Regions from separate parts of the Homo sapiens genome. Here region 2 is linked to region 1. The links are contacts of gene promoters, found by promoter capture Hi-C in human tissues and cell types (Jung and others, 2019). All regions are on one chromosome and are shown on one strand. The core of a region is centred on a gene start or on the middle of the fragment in contact, and the rest is flanking DNA. Distances in the headings are between cores, read along the strand shown.

Region 1 (7,353 bases), core at 2,194-4,693:
ATTAACTCAGCCACCCGTGACCTTAAACCTACTAGAAGCAGGAGCACCCAGGGCAGAGCGGAGAGCTGCTGAATCCTTTATTGGAGTCCTGTCAAAGGCAACCGACCATTTGTTCCACTCCCCCATCAAGAAAAAATAATATGAAAGGCAAACTTTTGAATTGTATGTTAAACGGAATCAGATAGAGGGTCTCCTGGACAGAACCCCCTTCTCTCCTCCTACCCCTTCTGCTGCTCCCTCCCTACCCTGGCCTCCAGCTACATCCTTCCCCTCCCAGCTCAGGGTACAATGGGCTTCCCAAGGATAATTTTCGGGGCGAAAATGCTCGAGAAAATGATGAATTTGGGTAATTTATCGATCCTGGCTCCTCTTCCCACTTGTTTTATTTTAGAGGTCATTAATCAATGAAGAAAAACACCACCGTGTCCCCCCGTTTGCATTTAATACACTCAAGGCTCCTCATTTATTCCTCTGGAACAAATTCCCAGCAAATATTCACCCATCGATTTGGGAGCGATGGATTTTTATAAAGGTTTGATCGCTTTCTAAGTGGTCGAAGTGATTTGTTTCCGTGGTCTTCTCAGTATTGAAGGGGGTGGGGGAAGCGGATTTGAGGGGGTGCATGTCCTTGCCGTCGGTGGGCTCACTTTCTAAAAACTATTGAGATGCGCCAGGGTGGCCGTGACCAAGCGGGCCCAGGGTCAACTGTGTGAGGGGGAAGCGCCCCTCAGAGCGCGCGCAGCGTCGGGGGTCCAGCTTACGCCGCTGCGCGCCCTTGTGCGCACCGGGTGAGGATGCCGAGCTCTGCGGGCATCCCGGAAGCCGCGGTGGAGGCAGGGGCCCCGCTCGGCGCAGTGGGCCTGCTGGGGAGGTGCAGGGGAGGTCCTGACTCCTGGTCTATTCCCTTCCAGACTTTTTCGTTCGCTCCCGGACCTTCAGGGCTCTCCCTCAAACTTTCTCCTGCCCCCTTCACGGGAGGTTCCTGTAGCCTCTGGGCCTTAGGGTCCCGTAAGCCTCGGGATCGACTTGTGCCCGGGGTGGGTGTGGCGGAAGCTTGAATCGGATTACCCAGGTACGCCACCTGTAGACGTAGTGGGCGAGGGGGACTTTGCTACCTTCTCAGCTTCTTCCCTGGACCCCGCAGCGAGGGGAACCAAATCTCTCCCATGATAGCCCCTCTGGCGTCAGTCTGGACCGAGTGGCTACAGGTTGGACTAGGGTAGGCAGAAGATGCACTTGGCACCTTACCGAACGGTATTTGAATCCGTCTCCATTACTCATTAATGGCGTGACCTTAGGCAACCCATCTAAACTTTCCGAACCTCAGCGGTCCCCATCTACAATATGGGGGTTAATGATAATGCCTTCTCCGCATGTAGGTGGATTAAATGGACATAAAGCGCCTACCCCCGCCCGGCACGTCCAAAACTCTCATTAACAGGTCAGCTAATCTTATTACGAGAGGAACCCTCCCTCCTCCGCTTCCCAGAGTGTGGGCGGCATGAGGCCACGGAAGCAGCTGCTGCAACTAGCATTTCAAAATCCAGAGACTTTCTAATGGTGGCAGGGGGTGAAAGGGTAGGGGGGAGGCAGGGTTGGGACAGGTAGAGGTAGGTTCTTGGGGACTTCCAGTCTTGGGGACCAAGCGCTTGGAACTAGCTGGGTTTGGGCAGAAACAAGAAGGCAAATGACGGGACCGCCGCCGGAGTCCGGACTTCCATCCCTGGAGTTCACTGTCTCTCCCAGGGAACAGAGGAGTGTCCTGGTTTCTCAGCAATGAACCAGGAGAGTGTGAGAAAGAGCATTTGTTTCTTCTCCCGTGGCCCGACAAGCCACTCTTCGGCAGTTCTGCGAGCAGATTAATTGAAACGGGCCTGGAACTTCATCCTCTCCTCCCGATGGAGTTGCTGGAGGTCTGCGGACACTGCCTGGTTAGCCTCCGGGACCACAGCGCCGTGGGCTTTCCCTCGTGGTGTCTGCCTTAAACTTGGGTGCTATCAATCTATCCAACAATGACGGATGACCTTGTCATAACGACGCCAGTCAAAACATTTTCGGTCTAACTCTCTTCCAACCAACATCGAAGCATCCTGAATGAGACCCGGATGAAGTCTGAACAGCACGTTTCCCAGGTTCAGAAAACTTGAGTGGTGGGAAGAGAAAAAGAAACAAGCAGAAATCAGGAAAGAATGGCTATTAATTGCTCAGATTGGCAAGTGCTAAATAAGTTAGGTTGTTTGGAAAAAGATAAATGCCGTTTCTTCTCTTTACGGTATGGCCAGAACCCCGGCGATGGGAAAGTACCTCCTGAGTCGGTCAATTTCACACACCCTGCCTGTGCCCTCTACCATCTACTACCGAAAATGCCAGGAAGAGCTGGGGGGCAAGTGCCTCCTTCGTGGGTGCGAGACTGCATCGAAGGGCTGCCCTGGCACAAAGTCTGGGGAGAGGACATGGTGGAGGTGGGGCTGCACTCCCACCCTGCCCCTCTAACACCAGGTTTTGGGTAGAGAAACCTATGCGTGACCTCCTGCGGCAGCCGCAGGCAGCTGACCGCAAACAGCCTCGCCCGTGTCCCGGAGCAGTTGTGCCACCAGACGTAACACTGGATACTTGTCTCCGGGCCCCAAGAAGGAGAGGGAAAGAGCCCTCCAGAAGACAACCCGAGAAGGGGTCAGCAGAGCGCTGGGTGGAGTGCAGACTCCATTGCAGCCGCCTCCCAGCCCCACGGCCAAGCTTGAGTCCCTCCAGGACCAGCTGCTCTCGGTCTCAGGACCCTCGGTCCTACGCCTCCCTGCACCGACAAGCCTCCCTCCTGGGCTGCAGACAGAGGGTTTCACTGCAGCGCGCAACCCGTCCCGCTCCGCCCCCAACTTTTCTCCCCGGAGGATTTATGTTAGAGGTTGCGTGGCGGGCGAGTGGACTCTGGCACCCAGAAGCACTTCAGGAAAAACTGAGCCGGGCAAAAGCGCAAACCCGGTCCTGGCGGCGCGGGCTTGCTCCAGCGCGGACACCACAGCGTGTGCGGAGATGCATTCCCGTTGCCGCATTTCCACTGCTTTCAAGATCAGGGCACTGAGCTGGGACCCAGAAAAGACATATCATGGGCAGAAAGAGACAACAGGCTAGCGGCAGACGTCACGCCAAAAAAACAGGGGATGGGAGGGCGGAGGAGTTTGTGCGGGAAAGGCGCTCTGGCGATGTGGGTCGGGCCGAATTAGAACTTCCTTCTTCCCTCTCCCCTCCCCTTCTTCTGGCCTGCCTCCCCTCCCCCCTCCGTTCTCTCTCTCTCTCTCTCTCTCTCTCTCTCTCTCTCTCTCTCTCTCTCTCACACACACACACACACACACACACACACACACACACACACACACACACACACACACACACACACTCACTCTATTTTGTGCTGTCGTAAAACCCACGTGTCCAGCCGGGAAGCTGCCAGAGCGTGGAACCAAGGAGCCAGGACGCGGCAGCGGCCAAGCGCAGCAGCCCACGGCGGTTGAGTCGGGCGCCCAGGTCCGTCCGCACTCTCGCGCCCTCCGCGGGCCTCCCAATTTTCTCGCTTGCAGGTCGGGAGGTTTCCGGGCGGCACAATCTCTAGGACTCTCCTCCCGCGCTGCTCAGGGGCATGTAGCGCACGCAGGGCGCACACTCTCGCGCACCCGCACGCTCACCGAGACACCCGCACGCACCCACCGGCAGCACCGAGTTTTCAGGTAAGGTGAGGCTGGTCTGGGACTTAAGAGTCTAGGGCTTGGTAGATAGGAAGGTTGGTGGTCCTAGGTTGGGGGCGGGCGGCGAGACTGTTCTGCCTCCTGGCGCCTGAGGCCAACGCGGCTCGGGCGCTGCGCCACGCCGGCTCGGGTCGGCTCCGGGCGCTGGCTGAGGGCGGGGGCTGCGTCCTGCAGCCGAGTTCTACGGGGCAGCGCCCTCCTGTCGGGCCCCAGCATTGCTGGATGGGAGCTGGACGCTGCGATCGGGGAGGCAGAGCAGGGTGCACACAGCTCCCTCTGTGCGGCGCCGCAGCTTCGGAGTAAACTTTGCGCCCAAGCGGAGTTGGGAAGAGGGAGCCGCGGAACCGGGCGGCCGCCGGCTGAACCACCGGCTCGGGCACTTTCTCCAGGGTCCCAGTGGCCCTCTTCCCGGCCCCTTTCGCCCAGCTCACGCGCCCCCTCTTCCCTGCCCTCTGCCCCCAGTTCGAGGCGCCGGACATGCTGAAGCCCGGAGACCCCGGCGGTTCGGCCTTCCTCAAAGTGGACCCAGCCTACCTGCAGCACTGGCAGCAACTCTTCCCTCACGGAGGCGCAGGCCCGCTCAAGGGCAGCGGCGCCGCGGGTCTCCTGAGCGCGCCGCAGCCTCTTCAGCCGCCGCCGCCGCCCCCGCCCCCGGAGCGCGCTGAGCCTCCGCCGGACAGCCTGCGCCCGCGGCCCGCCTCTCTCTCCTCCGCCTCGTCCACGCCGGCTTCCTCTTCCACCTCCGCCTCCTCCGCCTCCTCCTGCGCTGCTGCGGCCGCTGCCGCCGCGCTGGCTGGTCTCTCGGCCCTGCCGGTGTCGCAGCTGCCGGTGTTCGCGCCTCTAGCCGCCGCTGCCGTCGCCGCCGAGCCGCTGCCCCCCAAGGAACTGTGCCTCGGCGCCACCTCCGGCCCCGGGCCCGTCAAGTGCGGTGGTGGTGGCGGCGGCGGCGGGGAGGGTCGCGGCGCCCCGCGCTTCCGCTGCAGCGCAGAGGAGCTGGACTATTACCTGTATGGCCAGCAGCGCATGGAGATCATCCCGCTCAACCAGCACACCAGCGACCCCAACAACCGTACGTAGCCGCAGCCCGCGCGCTCTCTCCCGGGGCGCCGGCGCCGGCGCCGGCGGGCGCGGGTGCCTGTCAGGGAGGCGGGTCGGATAGGAGTGACACGGGGCCGGGTGGGTGGGGAGCACCTGGTCCTGGCCGCTGGCCCGCGCCTCCCCGATCTCTGTGACAAAAGTTTTCTGGCGTTGGAGAAGGAAAGAGAACGGATGGGACGGCCGGTGGCACTTTGGGGTTCCCTCTCCCTCCCTCTCCTCACCTGCTTCACAGTCCCAAGTGTTTGGGGCCGGAGTCTACCGTGGACCCGGCCTAACAGACCTCTGCCCTCCCGCCGGACAGTGCCCGGGGCCAGGCGGGTACTGGCAGCGTGTGACAGGGGGTGTCTGGGTCAGGCCCTGCCTGGCCTTAGCCGGGACGAGGGAGGGACCCTCAGCGTCTCTGGGGAGCACGCAGACCAGGGCTTGTTTTTGCTACTCTCCACCCCACCTCTGGAGGGGTCATTTTCGGGCCGCGGGGTTGTGGGGGAACCGGCGGGAGCTGTTCGCTGGCCAGGCCTCACTGGAGTAGGAATTTTAGATGAAACTGAGTCCGTTTCTCCTTGAAGGCAGGCAGTATTCTTAGATCTACTATTCATTTAAAAAGAAGGAAAAGAAAAAAAAATGACTGCTACTTACTGAGAAGAAAATTTCTGTTCTCCTCCGATTCCGCTGATCCCGCTTTATCCGCGCACCTTTGACCCCGCAAACATTCATAACCCATGTTGGTTTATGTATTTATTTTTAGAAATTAGGGTGACTGTAATTTAGTAAAAGACGCTTACTCCCCTCTTCCTCCAAGTTAATAGCAAATGCCTAACTAAACATCAGAATTCCTGTAGCTTCGGTTTCTATATTCACAATTTGAAACGCTTATCACAAGTACAGTTCCATTTGGCGGTTTTGAAGCAAAACTCTAAATGAAGATCAAGCAATATGTACTGCTTTATACCTGCTTCTTTTTGATAATTTCAGAAGTTATACTGTGTTTACACCTATACTGTGTTGGGAGTGTTAAACGTGCTCCCAGAGACTTCTGGAGATAACATTAAAGTGTGTTAAGAGCGTCAGATTGAAAGCAATACAGGATTTGAAAGATCAGCATTCATTCAGCTATTTTCTTCATCTCATTCCTTCGTCTGGCTTCTGTATGAGTAAAGTTAATTTAAAACATTTATTTTTATTCAATTTTGAATAAGTTGCTTCTTGCAAAATGTCTACCGCTCTGTGAACTTCTTAATTCGTTGTAAAAGCAAAATAAGTTCAGTTATAGCTCTTTAAAGGATTCCCTAAGTCGTTGATTTGATGAAAAAAAAAACACTGGGCAACTGCCTCGTGGTTGAGGTCTATGAATATTTTCATTATGTTGGACATAGCTGTGATGGAGATAATAATTACCAACAGAAAGAGCAATCGTATTTACTTTTTTCTTTATGAAGTTTGAGAGTAAAGCACTGGCTTAAAATAGTGGTTTCAACTCTAATTTTGCTGTGCAGTTGAGAAGACTTGTATTTCAGAGTTTCAGAAAGTTTTACAACATTATACTCTCCCAACAGATTTCAAAAAATACTTATCTCCTACTGAATTTCTTGAATGTGTGTTTTTGAAGCAAGTATTTTAAATTATGAAATAAAAAGATTTTTAAACTGCCTTGGAAAAGGTATGTCTTACTGCTAAGTGAAATATAGCCATTGCAGGCTGAGAATGCTTCATCAATCTTGCAATTTCACTTCTGAATTAAATATATGCTAGAGAAGTCACCAGCAGTACACCCCAAATCCCTGGCTGTGTGCTGAGCTCCTGTACTGTTTACAATGCAGTCTGGAAAATTAATACGTTTTCACCAGAGAAAACAGACTAATTCGAGAAAGAATTAGGATAGATTCCTAATTAATATATGGGTATTGAACCAGTTTATTGCCTGGGTAACTTTTTTCTCTGGTTGGAGAAAATAAATTACAATTTTATTTAAATAATTTATATTGTGTTAATCTTCTGGTATCTCCTTTTGAGCCAACTGGATTGTTTCAGTGTTTGAAGTGCAGGGGAAAAGACAGAAGGGAAAGAAAATTAGATTGTCCTATTAGAGTTACACCCCACGTTGCTCACTAATTAAAGGGCAATTGAGAAAGAAAATAGAAAGCTGAGATAGCGCTGTGTAATGCTGGGAGACGAGATCTCCCATTCTTCCAGGAACTTCTCTGGACAAGCAAGCTTAGGCACTCATTTGAAGCCATGGGATGTACTTTTACAAAGATGAAACGTGATTGAGTTTAATCTAAGTAGGGGCTTAAAACAAGTCAGAAATGCAAATAGTGGGAAACTCGTTTCCTTTGGCAGGGGAAGTTGGCATAATGGTTATTGAAAGGCTGTGAAAAACAGAAGCTTCTCCTCATTCTCGAGTTGTATGTGAGTGGAGGTGGAGTGAAAGGAAGGGTGGAGGCAGAGGGAAGCTCCTATTAATTTATCATGTATAGATTTCCCTAGTTTTTCTTTTAGTTTTTTTACCATCTCCCTC
Region 2 (7,353 bases), core at 3,219-5,718, 97 kb after region 1:
TTGAGAAGGAGAATTAAAAGAGCATAGAGTTACCGCCTTATGTACCTTCTGTAGGACATGATCAAGCAAGAGAGGAAATGATTCAGGCAGTAGGAGACTAATCCCCCTGCTCAGTCTCAGCCAAGAAGTCTTCCCAGAGCCTCATTACCCAGGATTTTCCATCCAGACCTGCTGTCGTGGCGCACTTTGTGCTCAGCCTGAGGCCAGGCTCAGCTTGGGAAACAGAGTTCTCTGGTCTGGGTCCTGCCTTCCTCTCTGTCTGCCAGTGAAGGGAGAAGTTCATAAAAGATAGTCATTGTCCCTCTTCTCCTCAATAATTAGTTACTTTATTCAGCATTCTTAACTATTCTCCAACATAGTTTAATTTATGGTGTTAATAATCAAAATAGTGATAATTTTTGTTGCGGTACATAGGTGCAGCTTGTTCACTGCATAAGAGCATCTGGCTAAGTGGGCAGGATGGGGCCTAAAATCAAGTCTGTACTATGCCACCCATGCTGTGCCGCCTGAGGCTGCAATAGCCCAAAGAGGGCATCTTTTTCTAATCCACCCTAAGGAGCTGCATGGGCTACCACAGTCCTAGGAGTTCCCTATCACCAGTGCTTGTATCCTGCCTAGTGGACTTTGTCATTGCCCTCAGGCCTGAGCCCCGTAGGGTTCCTAGGTTCTGGCTTCACTGCTCTGGAGGAGGGTGTTGACAATGAGTGGCACGTTGCCTGTGCCTTTGAGCAAGAGAGCTTTTCAAAAGCAGAGATACAGGAGGGTTCAGGATCCTTCTGGCCCCTTATATTAGAAAGGGCAGCCAGACCAATACAGTGCCAGGAGTCAGATTGATTTTTATCTTGTTGCTGTGTAAATAGATTTTAGTAATTAATTGAAGCGGTTTCAGGGTCAAAATGGGAAATAGATTTCTATTAATGTTAAGGTGTTACTTATGTGTAACCTTGTTGACTTCACTCAATTTTTTTCCTTTAACATCTGTTTTTGTCATGTTTCCAATAGAGTTGCCATTTTAACTTAATTTTAATTCATCAGATTAATATTTGAAGGGCTTTGCTGATTGTATTTTTCCTTTTCCAAAAATATATGTTTTGATCATACCTACTTTCATCTGGAAAAAAAAGGAAACAACTAAGGTTGTTGGCTTAAATTCTGTGTATATGTTTTAGTTCTTTCTGTTCCTACTTTTATCTAGACAGCCACATGCTGTAGTTGTTTTTTTTTATTTTAATTTATCAAATAGATATTCCCAGGGGAGAGCTGAGTGTATGCTTATTTTGAAAGTGCAAGATTTAAACATCTTCTAGGAAATGGAAAGTTAAATCCTTTAGTGTATACAACCAGGTCTTTCAGAATTGATCTATCCCAAGGGAATTTTGGGAATCTTCCAACCATAGCTCATGGATATTCATCCCATGGACATTTGTAAATATTATGAAGATATCCTTTTACAAGCTTATAAAACAAACATTTTTAAAAACCTTTTTTTTGCAGATTAGTCAATAAAATGGGTTTCTCTACAACAGTTAATTTTACTACTTCAACTAATGGGTATTGGCTTACACAATGTTACAAAGAAGGAGAAGAATCTTGTAAAGGCACATAACCCTCAACTGTATGTCTTGGGGAGTTTCCAAATAGATGCCCCAGATGGCTCAGTCCCCAAATTGTCCCACCCATCCAGGGCTCAGGAGGCCTTTACAGAATTCTCAGGGTTGAGCTGAGATTAAGCTTGCCATGTCAGAGAAAGCCCTTTACAACTTCTAAAATCTTCTGCTGAGAAGTGGTTTTTGAAGGCATATCAAGATTACTGCCATCCAAAGAAGGCTGCAGAAGATTTGGCATGAAGAGGTCAGAGTTTCAATCCAGGCTTTGCCTCATATCTGATTGACTGAAATTCCACTGAAAGAATCCATCTCCCATGTTCTAGGTAGATGATGGGCCTGTCAGCAGCTACCCTAGGCCGTAGACTTAGGATTTCTAAGATAAAGGAGCATGTACGAAAAATAAAAATTGGAGGATCACATTGAAGGTCTTGGCTTTCAATTTGCTCTATGATACTGGAAGTCATGGAAAACAAGGAGCAAACGCAAGATATCATTTAACAGCAATGGCCAAGCATTTTATTGCAGGCAGGCAGGAAGGAAGGAAATAAAGAAGTTAGTTGGCAGTCTAAAAATTATTCTATGCAGCAAGGACTCCTTCCTCCTTCTTACTAAACAGTGTCTTGATATTTCAGTGGGCTGCCCTGCTGTGCCTGAGAGGATCTGTGTGAGCTGCCCGAAGCCTGGCTTTCTGAACCTGGGAAACTGAGAACAGGCCAGAATTTTCCTTAGGAGGGGTTCTTCATTATTGTTAGAAGCAAGGAGAATCATTCATCGCTATGTTCTTTCATCAAGAAAATGGAGTTTGGCTCATGATGAAAAAAATCAAAGGAAATTCCAAAGGACATCTAATATTTGAACAAGATCTAGGCAAAATTAAAGCAAATCCAAGAAGCAAATCAGTAAATATGCATTGAACACATCATACATACAAAGCCCTGTGCAATTTGGTTCAATTCAAAAAGTATTTTGTGGCATATCATAGAGGCACAGAAAGCTTGTTGCAGGTTTTCTGTGGTAACAGAACTTGACATCGCTTTGTTAAGCTCCTCGTACATATAATCCAGTCAACCATCATAGTAAGTAAAGAATGATCTCAAACTTTAGAGGTAATTAAGTCTAATTAAGATGCTCACAATGGTATAATAGAAACTCCTCACAATGAGGAGTTTCTTTTAGCTGAAATACTTAGTAGACTTTCCACTTCATTGTTCCTGAGATACTCCCGTCAAGGCTGTGGCATCAGCACCTATGCTAAGGGAAGGCACAACGAAGCCCCTGAGTGCAAGGGCGCTTTTCCCTCCTGACGCATTACCTGCATCTTTTCTTCCTTCTTACTCTGTTACACTGCACGAAGTCCAGGCTTAGAGATGCCCCTGCCAGTCAGTCATCAGGGACTGTAATTCAGGGTTAGTTTAGATGCCAACCAAGTGAAGTCTGGCTCTGACTTCTGTTGAGTCAGTTCTGTTGAGATGAGTTTCATTAAAGTATGAAAATATTTTGTGGAAGAGATTTCTCTAAAATGTAAGATAATGAACATAAAACTGAAGTCCTTCTCTTATTTTTAAAAAATATTTTTATATCTAGCTCTTACTTCCTCAAATATATAAATTGCATTCTTGTCATTCCCAGACAACATAGATATTATTTCTGGTAGCCTTCTTTCCTCAAGGAGAACTCCCTGAGAAAAGATTCTAAATTAAGGTAATTTCTACACGTTTGCTTGTATTTTTACTCACACTTGGTGTGCAGATGGCTCTAGAAATGATTTTTCTGGAATACTCTTCTTATGCACCCTATATATTGGACAAATTTTCTGACTATTACAACAAATTGTTCCATTTGTGTAAATATCTGCAGTGCATTTAGGCAAACACTTGAGAAAAATGTGTTTTTCTCTTAGTGTCTCCATCCAATCTGGATGTTAAAATATTACATATAGACATACACTTTTGCCTTATATGAAGCACTAAACTGCCAACTCGTGTATTCCTCATATTCTAATACACAAGATTAAAAATGCAAAACCATGACCCAGGCACATTTTCATTTCTCACAATTGTTCAAGCTATTCTACTCTCTTTGAAATTGATTCTAGAGCTTCAAGATAAAAAAAAGGAATATAATAATTTGAAAGTTTGTCAAGCAGTGAAAGGTAGTATATTTTGACACACTAATCCAGTAACTAATCAGTTTTCTAATAAACAATCAGCAGTTCGCTAACGTGTCATCAGCACTCCAGGAGCTCTGGAGAGGGGATGAGCTGCCCACGGACGTTAATGAATACACCAAAAATCATTAGGTGATCAATACTTCTGAGTTATTTTCATTGAGCTGATAGGTCTGATACATTAAAGCTGACATTATACATTTGTCAAGATCACAGTGCAGTTTTTAACAGTGGAACAGGCTGCTAAAAATATTCCCCGAAAGACAATCAAAGAAACACAAGTTCTTCCCCCTGACACACTCCGCTGGTGCAGGAGCCCTGAAAAATCCAAATGCGAAGTGAAGCTCCTGCCTCCCAATGTTCAAAAACATGCAAGAATTCCCAGAGTGGATTGATGTGTTCTATTTTATAGGTACTTATTTCCAAGACAGGGCACTTAATATAATTTACTGAAGAGGAGAAAGAGTGGAATGCCTAACAGATAACAGGGCTTGTGGCTTTCTTGTCTGTGATAAGGCAGGGAGACTATGTCATGGTGGCTTTTGCCACAGCTTTCATAGTGCAGGGGCTCACAAACTGGAGGTTGCATTATTTAAAAGTGGGACAATTGTCTGTAGCTCTTCTTGAATATCTTTTTCTTCAAAGGTTTGAGGAAAGGGCATTAGGGGTGGCTGAGGTGGCCTCTGAGCTGTATTAGATGCTGGGCCAGTGCTCTAGGCAGCCCAGGTAAGTAAGGTGGTGATGGAGAAGTCGCTGTCTGTGCCCAGCCAGCTGCCACAGTTCATCTGTGGGTGTGTGTATTTACACACACAATCACAATCAGCCAGGGACAACATCCACAGAAAAACAACAGGCTCCCACTAGATTTTGAATGTGTGTTCTGCTTTTTGTAGATTGAGTAGCCACCAAGCTAGTAAGTGAAGGTTGTTTGGAAGATATGGACATGGGAGATAGGGAGGAACTCAAAGTCTCTAGATTACAGTCTTTTTTTGTTGTTGTTTCTCATTTAAGTTAAAAAGAAGAGATAAATCTTGAAGTGTGACATTTTCTCCTCATCAGACACACTGCCCTTAATTCTAGCCCATAGGTACATCCTTTCCACTGTGCCACTGCAAATTCTAGTTTTATAAATTATTTTAACCCTAAGTTTGGTTAGGCTGTGACACTGTAACCAGCTTTTGCAAAAAAGCAGCGACCACGCCTACTGCCCCTCACAGTCACTGCAGTCTAACATATTGCTTCCTCTAGTTTCCAAATTCCAAGATGTACACTCTTTGGCTGCTGTTCTGAAGGGAGTAGAATTCCCAATTGTAAATTAGCAGTAGGTGAAATTCTATTTGTCATCAATTTCTCTTTGGGGTTACAGAGTAGAAAACTGCAGGCAAGCTGCTTCTTTGATGGCTCACTCCTAAAAATCTCTTTTTGTTCTTTATCTATTTGAACTGACAGTGATCAGAGCTGCAGCAGGACAGGGCTCTCTGGAGAAATCACCTTCCCCCTGCCTATTGACAGATCCCTCTGTTCTGCATCAGACGGGCTTTGTCCCATCACAGGCATCCAGGCCTTGGAAGGAGCCACCAATTAAACCTCTTGAGCTGGTAAAATCTGAAGCCACTTTGGAGTGTCTGTTCTGATTAGGCAGGATGAGAGGAAGCCCATCACCCTGCAGGCCCCGCTCCCTGGTCTCAATTTTCTCTCTTGCCTCCACCAGGTGCGAGAGGTGTGAGAGGAGCTTCACGCAGGCCACCCAGCTGAGCCGACACCAGCGGATGCCCAATGAGTGCAAGCCAATAACTGAGAGCCCAGAATCAATCGAAGTGGATTAACGGATTGACTGGTTGGAATTAAACTGCAAGGAAAGTCATGATTAAATGTCACGGACACTTAAGCAAAACCAAAGATTTCCTCTGAGCAACTTTCAATCAGTCCCAGAAAACCAAAAGCAGTAATAAAATAAGTAAGATGTTAAGAGATATTGATCCTGGCATGGAAGTCAGACCAGGAAAGAGATTATTTATTTATGACTTAGGGATGAGACTTATTTCAGTGGACAACTAACCTGGGATGGTTAACATTTCCAGTCCCACCATGTATTTTGCTTTGTTTCTAAAAAGCTTTTTAAAAACTGTTATTTAATACCAAAGGGAGGAATCGTATGGGTTCTTCTGCCCACCGTTGTGACTAAGAATGCACAGGGACTTGGTTCTCGTTGCACCTTTTTTTAGTAACATGTTTCATGGGGACCCACTGTACAGCCCTTCATTCTGCTGTGTCAGTTTGGCCTGGCCTGACACTGGCTGCCCCAGCGGGGACCACGGAAGCAGAGTGAGAGCCTTCGCTGAGTCAATGCTACCTTCAGCCCCAGACGCATCCCATTTCCATGTCTTCCATGCTCACTGCTCATGCACTTTTTACACGGTTTCTTCCAAACAGCCCGGTCTTGATGCAGGAGAGTCTGGAAAAGGAAGAAAATGGTTTCAGTTTCAAAATTCAAAGGAAAAAGTTGAGGACTTATTTTGTCCTGTCAAGATTGCAAGAACATGTAAAATGTACGGAGCTTCATAATACGTTATATTGTTCCGAAGCAGCTCGTTGAGAAACATTTGTTTTCAATAACATTTTAGCTTAAAAAAAAAAAAAGAAAATGAAAATAAAGTTCTTTGGTTTAAGGCTGGAGATAAGGTGTTAGGCTTCATTGTAATTTTTTTAGTTGTTTCTGTGAAAGTGTTGAACATGTGAACAAAAATAGTGCCAAACCCCATCGTCAAGGCCCTTTTAGCAATTTTATCTTTCTTCCTCTTGCAGATGAACCCCAGGAGCCCCCTTTCCTCTCTCCTGAGTGTGGGAGGAGCATGTCTACAAACACAAGTGAAAATAGCCCAGACAAGGAGACTTTGAGAGGAGGAACCATGGAGAAGGTTGTGGTTAGAACAGATAGCCCAGGAGCAGCTAATTTTATCAATAGGATTACTTTGTCTTTTCTTGAGATTGATTAATTGAAAGAGAAGGAATTCTCCACACAATTTCACTATTCTTTGAGTGCTGAGAATGTGAGTTTAATTTCAGCTAGCCTGTTGGTGGTTCAACAGTGGTGCTCAATGAAATTGGGTCACATTTAATGAAATGATCTAGTTTTGGGAAGAGCTGATAGCTCCCAGCAGCATCTCAGCGACTGTCTACCTTGATGGCCAGTTTAGATAAAAACTGTTCAGTTTTATCTAGAGTGTTTAATAACAACAGTTTCTGTTTGTAAATTTCATCATCACCTGATATCAGGACACAGTCTTTTAAGGAACTCCTTGTCTTTGAGCTTTCCCATTGTCTTCCCTCAATAAAAATGAGACACATAACTGAACTCACTACTAAAAGGCAAGGATACTGTGTGGTTTAGTTTAATCTATTATTATGTATCTGGCTCTGAGAAAATCTCTCTTCCCTTTTAATTTTGCTTCTCTATTCCTTAGCACCCCAGCTACCACATTTTAAATGGAATTCAACAGGGTCTAATTAATAAGTGTTTACAGTTATTATTTATATACGTATATATACATATATACACATAATAATAATCTCTAGAAC

Evidence for each region. Contacts are between HindIII fragments. The study calls those that stand out against the background at their distance.
Region 2: a fragment that was not itself captured here is called in contact with the fragment with the promoter of PRDM6 in region 1 in 2 of the 25 tissues and cell types used here (aorta and bladder).

The regions. Positions count from the first base shown.
Region 1 is chr5:123,085,798-123,093,150 of GRCh38, forward strand. It overlaps PRDM6 (PR/SET domain 6), which reads left to right and starts at 3,444. Exons shown (of 8, transcript NM_001136239.4): 1 at 3,444-3,722; 2 at 4,203-4,809. The coding sequence starts at 4,218. PRDM6-AS1 (PRDM6 antisense RNA 1) reads right to left here and starts at 4,519. Exons shown (of 2, transcript NR_146771.1): 1 at 4,275-4,519; 2 at 434-2,142. RefSeq lists enhancers at 2,094-2,638, 2,639-3,183. The HindIII fragment of the contact is 7,641 bases long and covers 1,895-7,353 here.
Region 2 is chr5:123,181,602-123,188,954 of GRCh38, forward strand. It overlaps PRDM6 (PR/SET domain 6), which reads left to right. Exons shown (of 8, transcript NM_001136239.4): 8 at 5,486-7,353. The coding sequence ends at 5,600. Among named protein-coding and RNA genes, the nearest start is that of PRDM6-AS1, 95 kb to the left of the region's middle. The HindIII fragment of the contact is 5,750 bases long and covers 1,594-7,343 here.